3 separate regions of the Homo sapiens genome follow, and regions 2 and 3 are each linked to region 1. Evidence: promoter capture Hi-C in human tissues and cell types (Jung and others, 2019). All regions are on one chromosome and are shown on one strand. The core of a region is centred on a gene start or on the middle of the fragment in contact, and the rest is flanking DNA. Distances in the headings are between cores, read along the strand shown. Region 1 holds the start of ANO1 (anoctamin 1). Region 2 has its middle 62 kb from the start of LINC02753. Region 3 has its middle 79 kb from the start of LINC02753.

Region 1 (3,228 bases), core at 26-2,525:
GGAGATAGCCAGTCCCAGCCCTGTCCTATCCTCTTCCGGCAAACTTTGTCCTTCAAGCCAAACCCTTCCTGGGAGAATTCTGCCCCCCTCTCTAAAACATAGGGTTACCTAGACCTCTGGGTCTGGCCCTGGGGAGGGTGGTGGGGATATTGGGGACCTCAGGATGGGGTCCCCAACTTACATGACTGGCTTCCAACCAGTGCCCCCACCTGAACCAGGCCTGGGCGCCCAGGGGAGACAGGGGCGAGGGTAGAAAGCAATCTCCAATGATTGACACCCTGGGCTTTGAGAGTTTCGGTGCCAATGCCAGGGTACCAGGCCCAGTGCCCTGGGCACAATATGCGTTTCTGGCAAGTGAGGACTCGGGACTCTGGCCCCAGAGGATAGTGAAGCAGTGGGGCCTGGCAGTTACCATCATCGTGGAGTGGCGACCAACTTGGCCTTCACCCAAGACCCCCACCATCACCCTCACCCTGGCTGCCCCAACAGGTACCCCTGGCCGCGAGCCAGGAAGGGAAGGTCCCATCCAGGGCGCCAGCCGTGAGCTCTTGGTTGGGCTCCGAGCTGCAGCCCCGGGTGAGGCGGCTTCGGGGCCGCAGAGCTCCGAGGCCGGGCCATGCCTGGGGGCCCGGCGCTGCGCTGGGCGGAGTGGGCGCCGCGCTCGGAACGCTCAGAGCGCAGGCGGGGCGCACGCACTTGGCCAGGGCCGGCGCGCCCTTCCCGGCACGCACGTGCGCGGGTGGGCGCCGCGAACCCTGCGCGGAGGGTGCGGCCCCCGCCCTGGGGTCCCAGGAGGCCCTGCCGCCGCCCGGTTCCCGCCCTCGCCAAGGCGCAGGTGCGCGGCCCTCCCGCCCGGGTCGCGGCCGCCCGCACTCACCGTGCCCTCGGACGGCAGGTAGCCGATGTCCTCGATGGCGCAGATGTTGATGATGTGGACGCTGCGGTCCTCGGCCGGGAGCGTCGAGTACTTCTCGTTGACCCTCATCGTGGCCGCCTGTGCGCTGGGACCGCCGGGCGGCGCGCCCTCCCCATCCACGGCCCCGGCGGCCTCTGCGGGCGGAGACCGCAGCGTTCGCGGCGCGCTCGCAGGGGGCCGGGCCTCCCCGCGCCCAGGCCCGCCGGGGACGTGGCCGCCTCCCGCTCCGCCCGCCGCCCTGGCCCGCCCGGCCCGCGCGCTCGATGCGGGGGGCGCCTGAGCCTCTCGGGGCCGATCGCGCCGCCACCCGGCTGCTGGTCCCGCGGGCCGGCCCGCGCCTGGTCAGGAACTTGGACGCCAGCCGGCCCGCCTTTGCCTTAAAGATATAAGCGCTCTCCGCCCGCCTATGGCAGGGGCGGTGGCCGCGCCGGTCAGATTTTCCGTAGAAATTTAAACACAGGAAGAAAAAGTATTCCATTCCTGCGGGCCCCTCCAAGTTTTATTTTTATCCAGGGAAAGTGCCCCTTTGGATTTTTGAGGGTTTTCATACCGGGTGTGAAAGGGGGGAACTTTCAATAGCCCCACCTGAAATAAAGTCCCCGAGTGGCAGGCGCTTCTGTGGCGCGTCACCTCCGCCTCCGGGGGGAGTGAAGCTTCTGAGATTGGAGTCTGGATCTCTGCCCCTTTCCCTCCACCCTGGCAAACTCCTGCTGTCACTCAGCACTCACCTCCTCCGGGGAGCTTGCCTGGTTCCTGCCGACCCGCCCCCTCCAGCTGCCCGCGCTCCTGGGGGAGTCTCTCCCGGGGCAGTCATCTCCCTGGAGCCCACTGATGTTACCGGTGCCCCCGAGTTTACGGAGTGCTTAGTGTTCTGTGCCCAGGTGCGTGCAGCGTCCCTGATGTAGGGCGTGAGTGTGTATCATCTCATTTAACCCCGCACCTGCAAGGTTGGAATGCGGGTCCTCATTTTGCAGAGGACACTCAGGCTTAGGAGGGCCAAGGACCAGTCCGCATCCTCTGAGGTGGGGCGGGGCTCCTGCAGAGCTTTCCCCACTGCTGGGCAAGGCTGTCCTGCTTTCTGGAGGGGCGGAGCGGGGGGGATGGTGGCTTTGATCTCTCTTACCCCCGGACCTAGCAGGGGTCTGGCACACTGCAGATCTTCAAGTCTTCTTCCCCTAAGGAGAATAAGGCAGGTCCCCAGGGGACGACCATACTCAGGTTAAGCCCCAGGGGCCATGCTGGCCACCACATCCAGTGGAAATAAAGTGTCCCTCTGCCTCTCACATCCTATGAGTTCTTCACGGTGTGCATCAGATAGCACCTCCTGCAGGAAGTCCTGCTGGATTCTCCCCTACTGTCCCCTTCCCACCCAAATATGCAGGCCTTCCTGTCTATCCAAAGAACCTGCCTGAACCCCAACTAGCACTTCATTTATTCCGTCTCATTTTACAGTGGGTTGTCTACCAGGTTCACACAGCCGATGCTCAATAATTGCTTGTTAAATGGCCACTGGGGAACATTCAAGGCCTACAGAAGTGATTAGAAAATTGTCTTTAAAGGCCACGATGTCGTCAGCGTGCCATGGTTCCAAGCATGGAACCTGGAGTCAGCTAGGATAGGGTTGGAGAGAAGGGGTGGGGTCTAGCTCCAGCTCTGGCACCTTCCAGCCTTGTGACCTTGTGCCAGCCTCCTTGGCCTCAGAGCCTCCTGGGCCTCAGAGCCTCTGCCTTCTCATGGGAGTTTTAAGCGTGCCTGAAGCTGCCAGGCTTAGCAATGGTGACTGTTGTCACTACTAATGTCATCTTGTCATGACCTACCCTTTCCTGGTGCCTCAGTGAGACTCTCCCATTTAGGCACAAGTCTGTGACTTCCTTGAACTTGGGGCGGTGCAGGAAGGCTATTTGGTTCTCAGGCTGGTGGTGCCAACGGGCACTGAGTGGCCCTAAAGGACCCTTTGTCTGCACCTTGGACAGCGAGAGAGGGTTTGGAGAAGTGCCCCAGGCTGGCCAAATCCATGCCAGGAACAGTGCTCCACAGCCTCTGCTCCTTAAAAGTTCAAGTGTCCAGGGCTGGGAGAATCCCACACGCATGTACAGAGGATTATGTAACTCCATCCACTTATCTTTGTTGGTAAACAACCAACATTGTGTAATACTAATGTACTGTCTTTTCAAATTTGTGTTCGAGTGCCAACAGACCTTCCAGAGCTCTATGAGGTGCAGTTTGCATGAAAAAAAAAAAAGAGTAAAAATATACTTGGCCAAATCTGGACACACTGGTGCTCCCAAAGGTTTGGGAAGTGACATTTCTGG
Region 2 (3,159 bases), core at 477-2,976, 75 kb after region 1:
CTCTGATATATCAGTTTGGGCTGTGTGACTTCTGCCATGTTACTTCACCTCTCTGAACCCCAGCTTCTTCACTTGTAAAATAATGAAAATGATATCAATCTGTGAGGGGATTTGGGTGGAGTAAATGAGAACATAAACACATAATAAAGTTCTAAAGACTAAAGAGATGTTCAGTAGCCAGTGGTGACATTTGTAATGCACCCATGATAAGAATGTTTCTGTCACCAATTTTTTTTTTTTTTTTGAGTTGGAATCTCGCTCTGTCACCCAGGCTGGAGTGCAGTGGCACGATCTCGGCTCACTGCAGCCTGCGCCTCCCAGGTTCTAGCAATTCTCCTGCCTCAGCCTCCTGAGTAGCTGGGATTTCAAGCACCTGCAACCACACCTGGCTAATTTTTGTAGTTTTAGTAGAGACGGGGTTTTGCAATGTTGGCCAGGCTGGTCTCGAACTCCTGACCTCAGGTGATCCACCCACCTGGGACTCCCAAAGTGTTGGGATTACAGGTGTGAGCCACAGCGCCCGGCCTCTGTCACCAATTCTAATTCCCCAAGTCAAGGACTGTTCAAAGGTGCGCTAGTGTAAATCAACCTCACTTGTGCCCACTGTGTTAAATCTCTCCCAGTAGCACTGAAAGCTTATTTGCCAAGTCTAGAAGAAAGCAGGGCAGCCACACAAAAGATATCTCCATTGCTCCACGATATTTTTTGAGGGCAGTGTGATGGAGAAGCCTGTGGCTGCAAGCTCTGAGAGCCAGGAGATGCTGCGTAACGTCGCGACACGCTTTATTCTCATAGCCCCCATCTGACAGTGGCCTGGAACCCTGTGTTCCCACTGTGTGGATTTGAGCACTGGCTCCACCACATCACAACCATGTGAGAGGTTGCCTCACCTTAAATTGGGGAAGGAGCAGTACCTCCCTCGAAGGGCACAATGACTAGTCATGAGATGGTCCCTGTAAAAGTGCACATATAAGCATCCGGCGTGTGGTCACACACAGCAAATATTAGCCATTGTAATTTCTAATAGCTGTATCTTTTTGTAACCTGTTCTTTTTGCACACACTCTCTCTCATGTAACTGTGTTCTGGACTACATCTCACTACTCTAAAGCTCACGTCTAGCACAGACCAGATGCTTGAAAAACATCCAGCCAACAAGATGGGAACACAGCGCTGCCCTTGTGAAGACAAAGTCAGGTGGGGTGCAGGGTGGTGAGACCACTGTGTGAGGACCTGGGGCTTTGGGGGCCGCTGAAGGAGCCCCTGGTGGGCTCCTGGGGACTGGGAAGAGGTTATGAGGGAGGTCCAAAGGGTCGGAGCAGGAGGAAAAGTGCCTCAGGCTGAAGGAGGAGCTCGTGGGTGGTCTGGACGGGACAGTGTGCCTGGATTCTTCCAGAAGTGGGGAGAGGCTGTATGGTTGGCACGTGGAGGCTGGGAGAACATGGCAGGAGCTGAGGGCCAGGATATAGCAGCCTCACACTATTCCCTGTGGGGTGTCCACAGGTAGCCATCCAGTCCCTACTTAGGGTCATTTCTTTTTCACTGTTCTATGTGAAACAGTCTTTATCCACCTGCTCAATCAATTCTGTAGGATATGTTTCTAGGATTGGAGTGATTTGATCAAGTGGTAAACATCTGTTTTATTTACTCCATCCTCTCCATCAATACAATTACCTATCCATCCACCCATTCCATTCATCTACCCATTTATCCATCCATCCATCCATCCATCCATCCATCCATCCATCCATCCATCCATCCACCCATCCATCCACCAACAATTTATTAAGCCCCAGCTCTGTGCTAAGCACTGGACATAAAGGGTGATATGCCCTCCCAGCACAGAGTAAGCTTCCTGCAGCCTGAAGAGGGCTGTGGAAGGGAACACTTTCCATACAAGAATGCCCTGCATACAGGAGGTACACAGTAAGTCTGTGGGAGAATTGGTGACGACATGCTGCCAAGCTGTCCTGAGACCAGTGGGACCATATCAGAGTCAGGAGACAGCTTGTTTTCCACAGGCTGAACCATTGTAATATTGACCGATTTTGCCTGTTTGATGAGCATCTCAGATCCTATAATGTGGATTTCTCTGATTATGAGTAAAGCTGTCTTTTCTAAATAGTTAGCCATTTTGGTGGTAAGTTGCCTATTGTGGTCATGCCGATTTTCCCATTGGTGTGTTGGTCTTTCATTTTAAATTGGTCTGTAAATATGTGTATTTTAGAGTGATAAAAACAATTCTTTATTGGATACTCAGCAAATAGTTACCCCCAGCTTGATATTTTTCTTTCTATTTTGTTTACGGTGTTGTTTCTTTTTTTCTAATCTGTGGAAGTTAAAAATTTTTCCTCGACAGTTTTTGGGTTTAGTATTGTGCTCAGAAAATCCTTCCTGAAGATAATGTAAGTGTCCATCTTATTTTCTTCTAGAATATTTATAATTTTATTTTTATACTTAATGATTTTGTTTTTTGCACTCAGATCTTTACTTTGCCTGGAACTCACTTTGGGGTATTAGGGGTATAGAATCAGACAGGAACCAGAGTTTGCTTTACCCTCAATGGTTGTTGGCCGTTTCCAACAGAGGAAGTGCTCGACGGCACCCATGACTTCTTTAAAGCTGTTTCCTGACCTATATCTTCTAACTGAATTAGAAAATGCAGTCATGCACCACTTAACCACAGGGACTCTGAGAAATGTGTCATTAGGTGTTTTCATCATAGTGTGAACATAGAGTGTTCTTACACAAACTGAGATGACGTAGCCACCGCACAGCTAGGCTGTATGGCGTGGCCCATTGCTCCTAGGCTACAAACCTTCACAGCATGTTACTGCACTGAATACTGTAGGCAACATAATCGTAAGTGTTTTTTTGGTGTTTTTTTTTTTTTTTTGGTGGAGTCTCGCTTTGTTGCCCAGGCTGGAGTGCAATGGCTCTATCTCGGCTCACTGCAACCTCTGCCTCTCGGGTTCAAGCAATTCTCCTGCCTCAGCCTCCTGAGTAGCTGGGACTACAGGCACATGCCACCATGCCTGGCTAATTTTTGTATTTTTAGTAGAGATGGGGTTTCACCATATTGGGCAGGCTGGTCCCATATTGGGCAGGTTTGGGATCCTGACCTCATGATCCACCTGCCTTGGTCTCCCAAAGTGCTGGG
Region 3 (3,326 bases), core at 297-2,796, 91 kb after region 1:
GATGACAATGATGATAATCCTCACTCATGCACAGAACAGAGCCAGGCACTTTGGAAAGGCTATGAACTCAAGTCCTTTTCACAGCCACCCTCCGGACTTTACAGATAAGGCATAGAGTGGTTAAGTAAGTTGGCCGAGGGCACAGGGCTGCAGGCGGCAAAGCTGGGATTGAGACCTGGGAGGCTGGCTCTAGAATTGGGGCTCTCTGTACTTCACAAGATAAGTGCTTCCTCTCTCTGGGTCTGGGTGCCGGTGGCAGGAAAAAGTGGGAACCCAGACCTCTTTCTGTTCTCCAACTCTGTGGCTTTTTAAATTTCCTATTTACGGGCGAAGCCACTGACGGCCTCCAGGTGTAAATGACATGGACAGAGCGAAAGTGGCGTGGTGCTGTGAGGCTTCCCATGGAATTTCTTCATGCCTACTGCGGTGGAATGGTGCATCTGGCAGCAAACCCAAGAACCGAGGCTGGGACACCCGTCCTGGGGTCTTACTCCTGACACGGCTGCTACCCACAGCAGGGGGCACGATTCCACCCCACACACAGCCGAGGTGCAGCGGGGTGGACAGGAAAGGCCTGCTCTCCGGGAGTGGAGGCTGTGGCCGTCATCCATCCATGATTACAGCTCAGATCTGATGAGCTGAATCCTCCAGTAAGGAACACTCCAGGTCCTCACATCTGAGACATGACCCATGCCCAAATGTAAAGCCTATAAAGACCAAAGCACAGGCCTCCAGAGTACACCCTCATGCACAGGGAACGGTTTCCTCAAGATGTCCTAGAAGCATTGCTGGGTGATTCTGCCTGGGGTGGGGAAAGGGAGAGGCAGTGGCCTCACAGCAACTGGACTCAGACACCCTGGGTTCTAGTCTTTTTTTTTTTTTTTTTTTTTTTTTTTTTTTTGAGACATGGTCTTGCTCTGTTACCCAGGCTGGAGTGCAGTGGCAAGATCTAGGCACACTGCGGGCTCAAGCGATCCTCCTGCCTCAGCCCCTCAGGTAGCCCCGGGACAACAGGCCTCCGTTCTAATCTTGGTGCCATCAGTTACTGGCTGTGTGGCCTCAGTTTCTTTGTCTGCACAATGGGGAGGATTATACACCCCTTTACAGGGTAGCACTGAGGATAAATGTGTGAAGCATTTGAATCAGTGCCTGAAGCTTGGTGGGCTGGTCATACACAGTGAGCTGGGGCTGTGTTTCCAGTGGATCACAGAACGGATCATTTCTACACGTGAGCTTGAGGAAGCCGCTCAGGAAGGCAGGACAGCCTGGCCGCACAAGAGTAGGCCCTGGTGGCCCACTTCAGCGCCCAGGTTTTTTGCCTGCTCTGGCTGGAGGGGCCCCTTTCTCTTTCTTCTGGGCCTTTAATTTGATGAGTATACAGTGTCACTTCTAGAAAGAAGCCAGACCCGGCTGTTTGAAAGGCACGCATCAGAATAAGTTTCTCCATGGGAATTCGAAAAGAAGAAAAGTCGGGGGAGGGAGGGGGGAAGAATAAAAGGAGGGCTTCCCATGCTATAGTTAGCAGTCCCGGGTTGGCGGTGGCATCCTGATTGCAGGGCACTGCCTCCTAACCAGGGCTTCAGAAGGGCAGAGCTCAGCGTGTAATTAAATAAAACCCACTGCACACTGCGGCCCCCTTGTCACTATCCCACTCTTAGGTTTATTTAATAACCTCTGAACTGGGAGGGGAGAATCATCCAGGAAACAGGGCTTGGGTCATTTATTTTAAAATTATTGGTACAAAAATATCCTGGGTGGTGATTTATGTGCAGCCAGGGGGGAGGAAGTCAGGGACTCCCCCTCCGGCCTAGCGTCCAGGCCTCATTTGTCTCCGGCTCTCTAAGTTCCTCTCAGTTTCCATTATGATTTCGAGTCATAGTAGTGACTTTATATCACAAATAAATCTCCAGAATAGCACGGAAATATTATGTGTATTAATAGCGCCTGTAAAAACATCCGAAAACCTCGTATCCGCTGCAAGACGCTCCCCCGGGATTGGGAACAGCCTGGGCCGGCCTAGCAGATGTCTCCCCAGGGGCCGCGCAGGGGCCCCTGCCCGGCGGCGCCCCCAGCCCCAGCCCAGCCCCGGGGCTCTGTCTGTCGTCTGTTTGTCTGTCAGTGCCCCAGCGACCTGTGACCGACACAGTCCCTCCCCTCTCGCCTTCACCGGGAGCAGCGCGGAGGGGGGAGGACTGTCCCCGCCACCAGAGGTGGGGGTCCCTGCCTCCTGCTCCTCGTGCGCCCCTGAGTCCTCCGCAAGCCACTGCCCCTGGGGCGTCCCAGATCCACTGCGGCCGCGCTCGCGGTCCCTCACCCCCCGTGCCGCCCTGGATACTCACCGACTGTGGGGACTTCCCTGGGGGGCAGCCCCTCCAGGCCGATGTCGCCCTCCTGCATGGCGCGTTCGCTGCGCGACTCCGGTGCACCCGGGACCTAGCGAGTCCAGACTAGGGAGCGACGAAGTCACCCCTGGAGGTCTGCGGCGGCTCTGGGGGCCAAGGTCCGAGCCTAGCTCGGGAGGGGACTGTCCCCTCTCTCCTCCCCAGAGGCAGGAGCGAAGCCGCGCGTGCTGTAGCCAAACTTGGCTGCCCTCGCTCACGGCCGCGCCGCTCCTCCCCCTCGGCTTTTTGGTCTGGGGGTCCCGGGCAGACCTCCCCACCCCCCGGGGGTTACCTGCGGACACCGCCCTCGCCCCGCCCCGCGCTCCCCGGACTCCCAGCGAGCGGCGCGGGACGCTGCAGAGGAGCAGCGGCTGGTCCCCAGGTCCCGGCCCGCCCCCGGCCTCCCGCTGCGCGGGGCGCGTCTCCACCGCTCCCAGACCGTCTTATCAGTTGGGGCGGGCAGTGGGGCCCCGAGCGGCCCTGCGAGGTGCACCCCCAGCCAGGGCCCCAGGGAAGGGGTGTTGACTACAGGAGGGGGCCTTGAGCCAGCCCCCGAGAGACGGGCGCAGCCCTGGGCGCGGGGCGGTTCCGTGAGTGGCCCTGGTTCCCGCATCAGAAGAGCGCCCTGGCCCCCTCCCCCAGGCGGCAGGACCCCGACGAATCACTGTCAATTTGTCACACGAGGAGGCTGAAGCCCAGGGATGGAAAGGAGAGCTGGAGGTTACAGGTCACTGGGGTCCTGAACTTGAATCCAGAAATTCGCCTCTGCCCACCCCCCTCCCCTCCCCGGGTTCCCTCCCGCAAGCCACAGCCTGTGCAGAATGTAGAAATCTGGATAAAGTGAGAAGGGTTTCAAAGTGGGGGAATGTCCTGTTATGTGAAGATTCCAGTTAACTGCGGCTAAGAGGACTGGACCCGGGGGTGCATCCAGGGACGAGGCAGGGA

Evidence for each region. Contacts are between HindIII fragments. The study calls those that stand out against the background at their distance.
Region 2: a contact is called between a fragment that was not itself captured here and the fragment with the promoter of ANO1 in region 1, in 2 of the 25 tissues and cell types used here (bladder and stomach).
Region 3: a fragment that was not itself captured here is called in contact with the fragment with the promoter of ANO1 in region 1 in 2 of the 25 tissues and cell types used here (IMR-90 fibroblasts and stomach).

The regions. Positions count from the first base shown.
Region 1 is chr11:70,076,364-70,079,591 of GRCh38, reverse strand. ANO1 (anoctamin 1) reads right to left here and starts at 1,275. Exons shown (of 26, transcript NM_018043.7): 1 at 878-1,275. The coding sequence starts at 985. The HindIII fragment of the contact is 18,532 bases long and covers 1-3,228 here.
Region 2 is chr11:70,002,198-70,005,356 of GRCh38, reverse strand. It overlaps a transcript of ANO1 not described here. Among named protein-coding and RNA genes, the nearest start is that of LINC02753, 62 kb to the left of the region's middle. The HindIII fragment of the contact is 3,461 bases long and covers 1-3,159 here.
Region 3 is chr11:69,985,180-69,988,505 of GRCh38, reverse strand. It overlaps a transcript of ANO1 not described here. Among named protein-coding and RNA genes, the nearest start is that of LINC02753, 79 kb to the left of the region's middle. RefSeq lists an enhancer at 1,606-2,423. The HindIII fragment of the contact is 3,913 bases long and covers 1-3,326 here.